Regions from separate parts of the Homo sapiens genome. Here regions 2 and 3 are each linked to region 1. The links are contacts of gene promoters, found by promoter capture Hi-C in blood cells and fetal thymus (Javierre and others, 2016). All regions are on one chromosome and are shown on one strand. The core of a region is centred on a gene start or on the middle of the fragment in contact, and the rest is flanking DNA. Distances in the headings are between cores, read along the strand shown. Region 1 holds the start of SLC2A3 (solute carrier family 2 member 3). Region 2 holds the start of CLEC4A (C-type lectin domain family 4 member A). Region 3 holds the start of GDF3 (growth differentiation factor 3).

The links. The method cuts DNA at HindIII sites, captures the fragments that hold promoters and counts their contacts. A CHiCAGO score of 5 or more calls a contact.
Region 2: the fragment with the promoter of CLEC4A here is called in contact with the fragment with the promoter of SLC2A3 in region 1 in 9 of 17 cell types (neutrophils, naive B cells, total B cells and 6 more); the score reaches 12.7 in neutrophils.
Region 3: the fragment with the promoter of GDF3 here is called in contact with the fragment with the promoter of SLC2A3 in region 1 in 7 of 17 cell types (erythroblasts, M2 macrophages, M1 macrophages and 4 more); the score reaches 13.3 in erythroblasts.

What each region holds. Positions count from the first base shown.
Region 1 is chr12:7,934,363-7,937,674 of GRCh38, forward strand. SLC2A3 (solute carrier family 2 member 3) reads right to left here and starts at 1,825. Exons shown (of 10, transcript NM_006931.3): 1 at 1,658-1,825. The coding sequence starts at 1,672. RefSeq lists an enhancer at 1-886 and a silencer at 1,954-2,003. The HindIII fragment of the contact is 4,746 bases long and covers 1-2,935 here.
Region 2 is chr12:8,122,138-8,125,187 of GRCh38, forward strand. It overlaps CLEC4A (C-type lectin domain family 4 member A), which reads left to right and starts at 1,480. Exons shown (of 6, transcript NM_016184.4): 1 at 1,480-1,823. The coding sequence starts at 1,742. RefSeq lists an enhancer at 1,350-1,399. The HindIII fragment of the contact is 7,899 bases long and covers 29-3,050 here.
Region 3 is chr12:7,694,348-7,697,757 of GRCh38, forward strand. It overlaps GDF3 (growth differentiation factor 3), which reads right to left and starts at 1,428. Exons shown (of 2, transcript NM_020634.3): 1 at 1,114-1,428. The coding sequence starts at 1,381. The HindIII fragment of the contact is 5,455 bases long and covers 1-1,777 here.

The DNA of each region.
Region 1 (3,312 bases), core at 575-3,074:
TGTGTCTTCACTGCTGGGTGGCTCTTTGAGTCTCTTATCTCTCAGGACCATGTAACCTACTGGATCTACTCACTGCATCCTGGCCCCATTTCAGTCTTCGTTTATTAAATACAGTTCTGCTATCCCTAACTCCCGCGCAGGGGAAGAAAGTACTTACTCTGAACCCAACATATAAGGGCGAACCCAACATATAAGAGACATTTCTTAGTGGGGAGAACCGGTCATCTTCACCTTGCCTGGAATAATTCAGCCGGGCGAGACATTTTCCATTTCTACCTTGGGGCAGCTCAATTTTTATACCTGAGGCCAACTTCTACGCCATTCCCCCCCACCCCACCACCCAAAATCCCTTCAACCTTTCATATCTTAAACTCCTTTCCTTTCAGGTCGGGCAGATTAGGCAGCAGGCTGGGAGCTTCAGCAGGAGAAGTGACCTTGCCTGCAGCCTCCCAGATGTCTCAGTCCCAGCTAAGCATCGGTACCCCGGAGGGCCCTGCCAGTGCAATGCTCTGTTAAATCTTTTTCCGTTTAGTAAAAATCTCTTCTGTCTCCTCTCATCATTCACTATCTTTGAGAGCCTTTTCTTCTTTAGTCTCATAATTTTCCATCCCTTTCTTATTTTCCTACATTTTCTTTCTTTCTGCTTTGTAGAGATGGGATCTCACTATATTGCCCAAGGCTAGTCTCAAACTCCAGGCCTCATGTGATCCTCCTGCCTTGGTTTCCCAAATGCTGGGGTTATAGGTGTGACCCACCACACCTGGCCCCTTATTTTTAGTTAAATTTATCTTGGTAAAAAATGCCTTTCTTGCTGCGCGCAGTGGCTCATGCCTGTAATCTCAGCACCTTGGGAGGCCGAGGCCGGCGGATCGCCTGAGGTCGGGAGTCGAGACCAGCCTGACCAACATAGAGAAACCCCGTCTCTACTAAAAATACAAAATTAGCCGGGCCCGGTGGTTCATGCCTGTAATCTCAGCTACTCAGGAGGCTGAGGCAGGAGAATCGCTTGAACCCGGGAGGCGGAGGCTGTGGTGAGCTGCGGTCGCTCCATTGCACTCCAGCCTGGGCAACAAGAGTAAAACTCAATCAGAAAAAAAAGAAAAGCCTTTCTCCCTGCAAATAATGCATATACAACACTCAATATTTTAGTATGTCCTGCACTCACGATTTTAACCCTAATAGGAAGGACAACTGGAATTCTTTCTCCTTAGCATCCACGAACCCCATATGTTATAGGACAAACAGATGGCCAGACCCTGGCCTGTGCCTCCAAACACAGACCTTTTCAAGGTCTAATGCTTCCAGAGAAGTCTTCACACTGGCTCTGAGACCCACACTTGTAATCCATACAACCAAGCAGCCCGATCCTCTAAACACTCAACCATCTCGTCCTCAGTGGCATATGGTTACCTAAAATAAACCTGAGAAGCAAACACAACTTCTCCGGGTGACTTTCCTATGATAAGGTGAACAGAACTGTATGACATTCAAAGAGAACTGATGAAGCGGCAGCAGTGCAGGCTAGAGACGAAATGAAAAGGCCTTAAGATAGCTTGGTGACTTAGGAGAAAATAGAACAAGGAGATTACCATTAATATTTGCCTTTCTGAGTGTATCCCAAACAAGCAAAAATAACCAGTAATTATATCATTCTTACCTTCTGTGTCCCCATCGCTGTAATCTAATTCAAGTCTTCAAGAAAGATCTAGGGGTGATTCCAGAAACAGCTTTTTCAGCCAACAAAACCTTCAAAATGTCCTTCTCAGCAGCAAGTTTTCTCCACGTCCTCAGGAAGGATCCAAAGTCTTACCATTACAGCATCTCTGGGTCTCGCTGGGATCATGACTATTTATAATCTCCGCAAAGGGTGGAGCCTGAAAGGGCGACAAGCCCCCAGCCCCACCCCACCCCACCCCACCCCCCTGAAGCAATCTTGTGATCTCTCGGAATTCTGTGTTATCAGAACTACCCCCGCCCCCGCCCCACAGACAATAACGCCCTCCCTCCCCCCTCTCTTAAAACCACATCCTTCCACTCTCTCCACCCTGGGTTTTTTTTTTTTTTTTTTTTTCAAAAGCTCATCCTTACTCCTTCCCTCTTCTAATAGCAGCTAGAGCCTCTTAGTTTCACAGACAAAATACTACCAGAAAAGCCTGGAGGGAGGGCAAATACACTATTTTATGCTCTCGCATCTGCTTGGGATTAAAACAATCTACAGAGAGATTAGAATAAATCTATCCATACAAAACGAAGTCAAGTGGGTGCTACTATCAGAGATTTAAGGTTGTTAGAAAGAGTGTTAGTAAGAATTCTTGATCCTATGAATTTATAGGCTGGGTCTACAATCTTTTTTTTTTCTTTTTTTTTTGAGACGGAGTACACAATCTTAAAGGGGAGGGAAAGACAGCCTGAGAGAAGAAAATCAGGGAAATAATTTTGCCAGTGTTCCTTTCTTCGCATAATCTCACCTGGAGGGAAGAAAATCTGAATTTCTAGGAGCCAGACCAACTATCAGGGCAGTAGGAATAAGAGGTTCAACTGTTTATGGAATACAATCCATATCCTTTTTTTTTTTTTTTTTTTTTTTTTGATATGGAGTCTCTCTCTGTCGCCCAGGCTGGAGTGCAGTGGTGCGATCTCGGCTCACTGCAACCTCCGCCTCCCGGGTTCAAGCAATTCTCCTGCCTCAGCCTCCCGAGTAGCTGGGACTATAGGCGCCCGCCACCACGCCCCGCTAATTTTTGTATTTTTAGTAAAGACGGGGTTTCACCATATTGGCCAGGCTGGTCTCAAACTCCTGACCTTGTGATCTGCCCGCCTTGGCCTCCCAAAGTGCTGGGATTACAAGTGTGAGCCACCGCGCCGAGCCCTATATTTAATAAGGCATTTGCCATATCACCCATTCTGAATTCTGCATCACTTTCTGCTAGTCTCAAGCTTATAGCATCTAGAAATGCAATAAATACCGAATTCAATTAAGCAGGTATTTGCCGAATACACGCTATGTATCAGGTACTCTCCAAGAAGCTGGTGATTCTTCAGTGAATAATAGAAAAAAAGGCCGGGCGCGGTGGCTCACGCCTGTAATCCCAGCACTTTGGGAGGCCGAGGTGGGCGGATCACGAGGTCAGGAGATCAAGACCATCCTGGCTAACACGGTGAAACCATTCTCTACTAAAAATACAAAAAAAAAAAAAAAAAAAAAAAAAATTAGCCGGGCATGGTGGCGGGCGCCTGCAGTCCCAGCTACTCGGGAGGCTGAGACAGGAGAATGGCGTGAACGCGGCAGGCGGAGCTTGCAGTGAGCCAAGA
Region 2 (3,050 bases), core at 230-2,729, 190 kb after region 1:
AGTGTCAGAGCCCAAGCAGGATGAAGAAAGCTTCTATGCAGAGGGAGGACTTGGTGTGGGTTTCAGAAACTTAGCAGGATAAGGAGGTGGTCCATGTGGTAGGATAGCCCGGTGAGGAAATCAGACCCCTCCAGGGTGAGGAGGGCTTCCACCCATAGGGTGACCTTGTGTGGAGCATTAGAACCTAAGGGGGTCTAAGTGGTGACTAGGGGACCAGCATCAGGAATCAGAGTGCAAGCAGAGTGAGGAGGGCTTTCCTGCAGAGGAATGGCCTAGCACAGGGAGTCAGAGCCTTGGCAGGGTGAGGGGGATGTTTGTTGGGGGATGTTCATGGGGGTGGGGAGTGGGCTGGCCCTTTGCCGGCACTCTCAGAGTGAGGAGGGAGGGCATCCGCGCAGGGGATGGTGGCTTGGACTGGGGAGTCAGAGCCCAACTAGGAAGAGAGGGACATCTTAGCAGGTGGGAGATTGACGACATCCAGGAGATTGATCAAATAAGGAATAAGTGAAAGACAATGAAAGCAGGTTTCTTAGTGTCACAGAAAGGAGTTAGGAATGTGGGAAGGGAGAAAACTAGAATGAAACTTGTGGTGTTAGATTGGAATTAGAGGAATTAGTGTGAACTCATGGTGTTCAATATATTTAGATATAGAAATAATATAGAAATATAGACGTGTGTGTTTGTGTGTGTGTGCATGCATGTATGCATGTGTGTTATGCAGGAGAAGGAATCAGCTGGGGGAGATTAAAAGGAGGATCATTTGCGGAGAGTTGAGGGCAGAGAATCCAGGTGTGAGCTGGGAGCATGTCTATGGAGAGATTCCACATGAAGGATTTAATATTTGGAGTGTTTTCTTCTAGGCCTTTGGAAAAAGTCATATTTAGTACTTTGTTTAAGTTTATCCCCTTCTATACTGTGATTCTATATAATTCTCCTAACTGTTAAAAAATAGTCATATATATTGGAGGTGATGTGGCGATTAAAAGGTTAGGGAAGCATGGAATAAAGGCTGGCCTTCCCTCTCCTCCAACATCCAGTAAAGGGAGCTGCTTTCTGGAGATTCTAGCAAGATGAATGCAGACTTTTGATAGAGTTAGTTACCAACAAGGAAACACAGAGAGCATGGAGGAACAGCTTCAGAAGACATGGGGTTTAAACTTTGCCATCCCCACCATGCTACAGGAAACTAATTCGTGAAGGTGGGGAGGCTGATATGTGAGTTTTGTGTCAATGATACTCTTAGAATGTGGTACTAACAAGTTGCCTGATCAGTCAAAATTGATGAGATGAATGCAACATAAGTCTATGTTCAGGATGTTTGGTCAAAAGTAATTACATTTGTGTGTGGAAGCACAGAAATTGTATTTTTTACTGGTGAAAAACGCAGTTCTCCAGAAAGACTCTAAGTGCTTGGTTCTTCTTTTATTTTTCTTCCTCTTTCCGCAACCCTTTGAGTTCCCACTTTTATTGCATTTGCTTGCATTTGTTTCAAGGCTGTGATTCTCACTATACTGGTCCTGAGGAAAGGGCTTCTGTGAACTGCGGTTTTTAGTTTTTATTGTGGTTCTTAGTTCTCATGAGACCCCTCTTGAGGATATGTGCCTATCTGGTGCCTCTGCTCTCCACTAGTTGAGTGAAAGGAAGGAGGTAATTTACCACCATGTTTGGTTCCTGTTTATAAGATGTTTTAAGAAAGATCTGAAACAGATTTTCTGAAGAAAGCAGAAGCTCTCTTCCCATTATGACTTCGGAAATCACTTATGCTGAAGTGAGGTTCAAAAATGAATTCAAGTCCTCAGGCATCAACACAGCCTCTTCTGCAGGTAAAGATCATTTTCTAGGGGTCAGAGTGAATGACGAGGTGAAGGATGAGGAGAGGGTTTATGAATAAGGCATAGGTGTTTTCAGTTGCTGGTTGTCTGATTGAGTATGTCTGGGAAACACAAGAGTCCCAGAAGATTGAGTGGCCTGCAGATACGCATTACGGGGTGTACATTTGTATTGTGGAGAAGAAAAGATTTTGTGCCACTCTCTTCAGCCTCCACTCTGCTTACTGAAACAGAGGTGAGAGAAATCCACTCCAGTTCTGAGCTAAGGCGAGTGCTCTGATGCCCCTGTGTTTTCTGAGGCTGAGTGGGGCTGGGGTTAAGAGATTGAGTACAGCTTCTGAAACCATCAATCCAGATGCAGGGGGTCCTGATGAATTTGTGAGATTTGTTTTTTGATCAGTTAGAGGGAAAGAGTTTGGGTGGACAGTGGTGAGGGTATATTTGTTGGTAATGGATGGAAATGTAACAAAAGGCCTTTGCAAATGAAAGACTAGAAAGTCTACAAAGAAAGTCTCTTAAATCTCCAGGAAACTTTTTCTGAAATCAGAGAACCTATTGCGTGTTGCATCTCTGAGACAGACTCTGTTACGTTTGGGAGTAGATGCAAGGTGATTTGGGTGTCATGTGTGATATCTCAAGTATAGAGCAAAAGAGAGAAAAGAATGTATATAGAGTACAAGAAACTATGGGGGAAGGGGTCAGGACTATAGTTACGCTTTCTAAAATACCTCTGTGAAGGTGTGGAGAGCACTTAGGGAAATTTTTTCTCCTTAAAAACTTTATATAATTTCTTTATTACACAAGTATTAATGTTCATTGTAGAAAAAATTAACCAGAGGTACACAGATATTTGAATTATAATTACTCTTATCATCTAGAGAAAATCATAATTTGCAATTTAGTGAATATCCTTCCACATACAAATACATATAATGTGCATATGTATTTTACTAAAAATGTAATCATATTATATAATACTGAATTTTTTTCCCCCATCATTTGACAAAATATCATAACTCGAAGAAAGTGATTCCTAACCATGAGATGGTAACTAAAAAGACTGACTTTATTCTAAACATGTGATGAGGAATGATTATAAAGATTTATTTGCTATAGCATTATTTAAAGTTGGAAACCATTATTTAAATATATGATGAAATACTATGCAACCATAATAAGGAGTGTTAAAGAAGAAAATATAATGGTATGAAAAATGTTCAT
Region 3 (3,410 bases), core at 178-2,677, 240 kb before region 1:
AAGTCAGGAGTTCAAGACCAGCCTGGCCAACATATAGTGAAACCCTGTCTCTACTAAAAAATTAAAAAATTAAAAAATTAGCTGGGCTTGGTGACACACGCCTGTAATCCCAGCTACTTGGGAAGCTGAGGCAGAAGAATCACTTGAACCCAGGAAGCGGAGGTTGCAGTGAGCTGAGAAAGTGCCACTCTACTCCAGCCTGGGGGACAGAGCGAGACTCTCAAAAAAAAAAAAAAAAAAAAAAGGCAAACTTTATCTTGTATTCTCAAGGCCATACACAGTTCCTGGCTCACCATAGGTATCCAATAAGTGCTTCTTGGACAAATAAATATTCAAATCTTCTCTCCAGTTGCTGTAAAACTAACCAAGGCTCTAAATTCTGCATCTGAAACACCCGGGAGGTTGTATAGACATGCAGATTCTCAACACCCATTTCAGACTTTGAATAAGAATTGGGTGGGGAGAACTAGGGGCAGGAATGGGGTTGGAGGATCTACTGTTAATGGAAGACCTAAGTTATTTGGTGGGTGGTCAGTTTGGGAAAGTACTGGATCCCACTCACTGAGATCCTTTTAAAAGGATATGACAGTTGTATATATTATTGCTCTCTATTCACAAATCTAGAATAACCTTTGCCACCCAACAAGAGTAGCCAGGAGGTACAAATAAGGGAAGCAGGACTCCTGGGCAAACCAACCTCAAAATTTTCATACCCTGCTTGCCACATGGAAGACGGCAGGATGTGTATATATGGGCTGCAGGGTGGGAGACTGAGCTCTGATTCCTCCCTCACCTCTTTCATCTCAACTGAAGCACAAAGCAGTTGATTCAGAAAACAAAAACCTATTTCAAATCCTGACTTTGTTCTCACACACTAGCTGTATGATCTTGAATAGATTACAGGTTACCTACTGTCTGAGCCTAATTTCCTTACTGTTAGGAACTTGATAAGAATATCTAACTTCCTCTCAGGATCGTGGCTGGAATTAAATGAGACAAAATATGAAAAATACCAGCACAAGGCCATCAGTAATTGTCATTTCCTATTGTCCTTTCCTTTCTTCACACCACCCAGTTCCAGATGTTTTTCTGGATAACACTCTATTTCCTTACCTTGGTCTGGGAGAAAGCGAAGTACATTCCCGCGGACGCCCAGCTCCTTTACGTAGCATAAGTCTCGGGAGACCCCAGTGGTCGCTGCTGCCTCGCGATCCTGGAAAATTTTCTTCAAGATATAAGGCACAGGTTGGAACTTCTGGGGTGAAGGCGCCTTATCTAAGCCCAGAAATTGGAGAAAGACATATTCTTGAAATTGGACTGCCTGGCCCAAAGCCAGAATTAACAGGAAGCTGAAAGCCAAATCTGGCAAGAAACGAAGCATGGCCTCTGGAGTGGCTGTCAGACCGGGGAGAGCTCCACTGCCAGACTGCCCAACAATTCAGAGGCTGCTAATTTATCTGATGTAAGATAATCAAGTGTGAATTGCTCTCTTCCCAGCTCCTCAAAGGCCATTGGATGTGAAGAGGGAATTTTTTTTTCTCTTCTCTTGCTCTACTCTTCCAGGAAAAAGTTCACAGAACAAAGATTACCAATGCATGGACATAAATTCTACAACAATGTGAGGTTGTCAGCAGTAGACAGAGTGAAAAGGAGACATGCATTTATTCATTTAACAAACAGTTACTAAGCATCTATTATGTGCACGGTGCTGAGATAGGTGCTAGGAATAGAGCAGTGAATAATTCATAGACTTGTAATTAATCATCTACATAGACCAAGCTTGTCCAACCTGCGGCCGGAGGGTCACATGAGGCTCACGATGGCTTTGAATGCAGCCCCACACAGATTCATAAACTTCCGTAAAACATTATGAAACTTTCTTGTGATTTTTTTAAGCTCATCAGCTATCATTAGTGTTAGTATATTTTACGTGTGGCCCAAAACAATTCTTCTTCTTCCAATGTGACCCAGGGAAGCCAAAAGATTGGACACCCCTGGATTAGACAAATACTCAAGTAGATTTCATTATTTTATTTTTATTTTTATTTTTATTTATGTATTTATTTATTTTTGAGACAGGGTCTCGCTCTGTTGCCCAGGCTGGAGTGCAGTGGCCTGATCTTGGCTCACTGCAAGCCTCGACCCCCTGAGCTCAAGAGATCATCCCACCTCAGCCTCTGGAGTAGTTGAGACTACAGGCATAGGGCACCACTTCCAGCTAATTGTTTTATTTTTTACAGAGATGGGGCCTTGCCATGTTGTCCAGACTGGTCTTGAACTCCTGGTCTCAAGCAGTCTTCCCACCTCGGCCTCCCAAAGTGCTGGGATTGTAGGCATGAGCCACTACACCCAGCCGCCAGCCTTGTTTCTCACCACCCACCATCCTTAGTGTGGATGCTCTAATTACATTGACCTATTTGTAGCTCTGTGAGCTCATTTCATCTCAGAGCCTTTACACAGACCAAGTTCAAAGGTCACCTCTACTTCCACAGTTTCGACTCACCAAAATAGATTGAGATACTTCTTTCTCCCACTGAGCCATACTTGGGCATCCATTACAGTTTTTTTGTTTTTTTGTTTTTTTTGAGACGGAGTTTCGCTCTTGTTGCCCTGGCTGCAGTGCAATGGCACGATCTCAGCTCACCACAACCTCTGCCTCCCAGGTTCAAGCAATTCTCCTGCCTCAGCCTCCCTAGTAGCTGGGATTACAGGCATGCGCTACCATGCCCGGCTACTTTTGTATTTTTAGTAGAGACGGGGTTTCTCCATGTCGGTCAGGCTGGTCTCAAACTCCTGACCTCAGGTAATCCACCCACCTCGGCCTCCCAAAGTGTTGGGATTATAGGTGTGAGCCACTGCACCCGGCCCTCCATTACAGTTTCTGCAGTGCATTTTACTGTGTTTGCCTCCTTCCTTTTCAGACAACTCACACCTTGAGGATCAGAACTGTGTCTCTTTGCCTAAGTATCTTCAGTGTGTCTTTTTCCCCAAAGTATCTCCACTGGTGAAGAAAGTGTCCGGCAGGTAGCAGACATTTGATAAGTATCTGTGCAAAAAATAAATTAAGGAATTAATTGGTTGCTATTTCTAGAGGTCTCACTCTTTTATATAGTGAGGTCTTCCCCATTTCTTTTTTTTCTTTTTTTTTTTTAGAGACTAGGTTTGGGGAGTGTCTCACTGTGTTGCCCAGGCTGGCCTTGAATTACTGGATCAAGGGAATCTTCTGCCTCAGCCTCCAAGTAACTAGAACTACAGGCAGGTGCCACTGCTCGCAGGTCCCACTTCTCTTATCTCCTGTTTCTATCTTATTTAACACTTTTAAATTAATCTACAATCTTAACCTTTTTTCAACAATAAGAGTAGGTTGTATTTGGGTTTTCTTTATTTGACTTTCCTGACTTAAGGTCAGA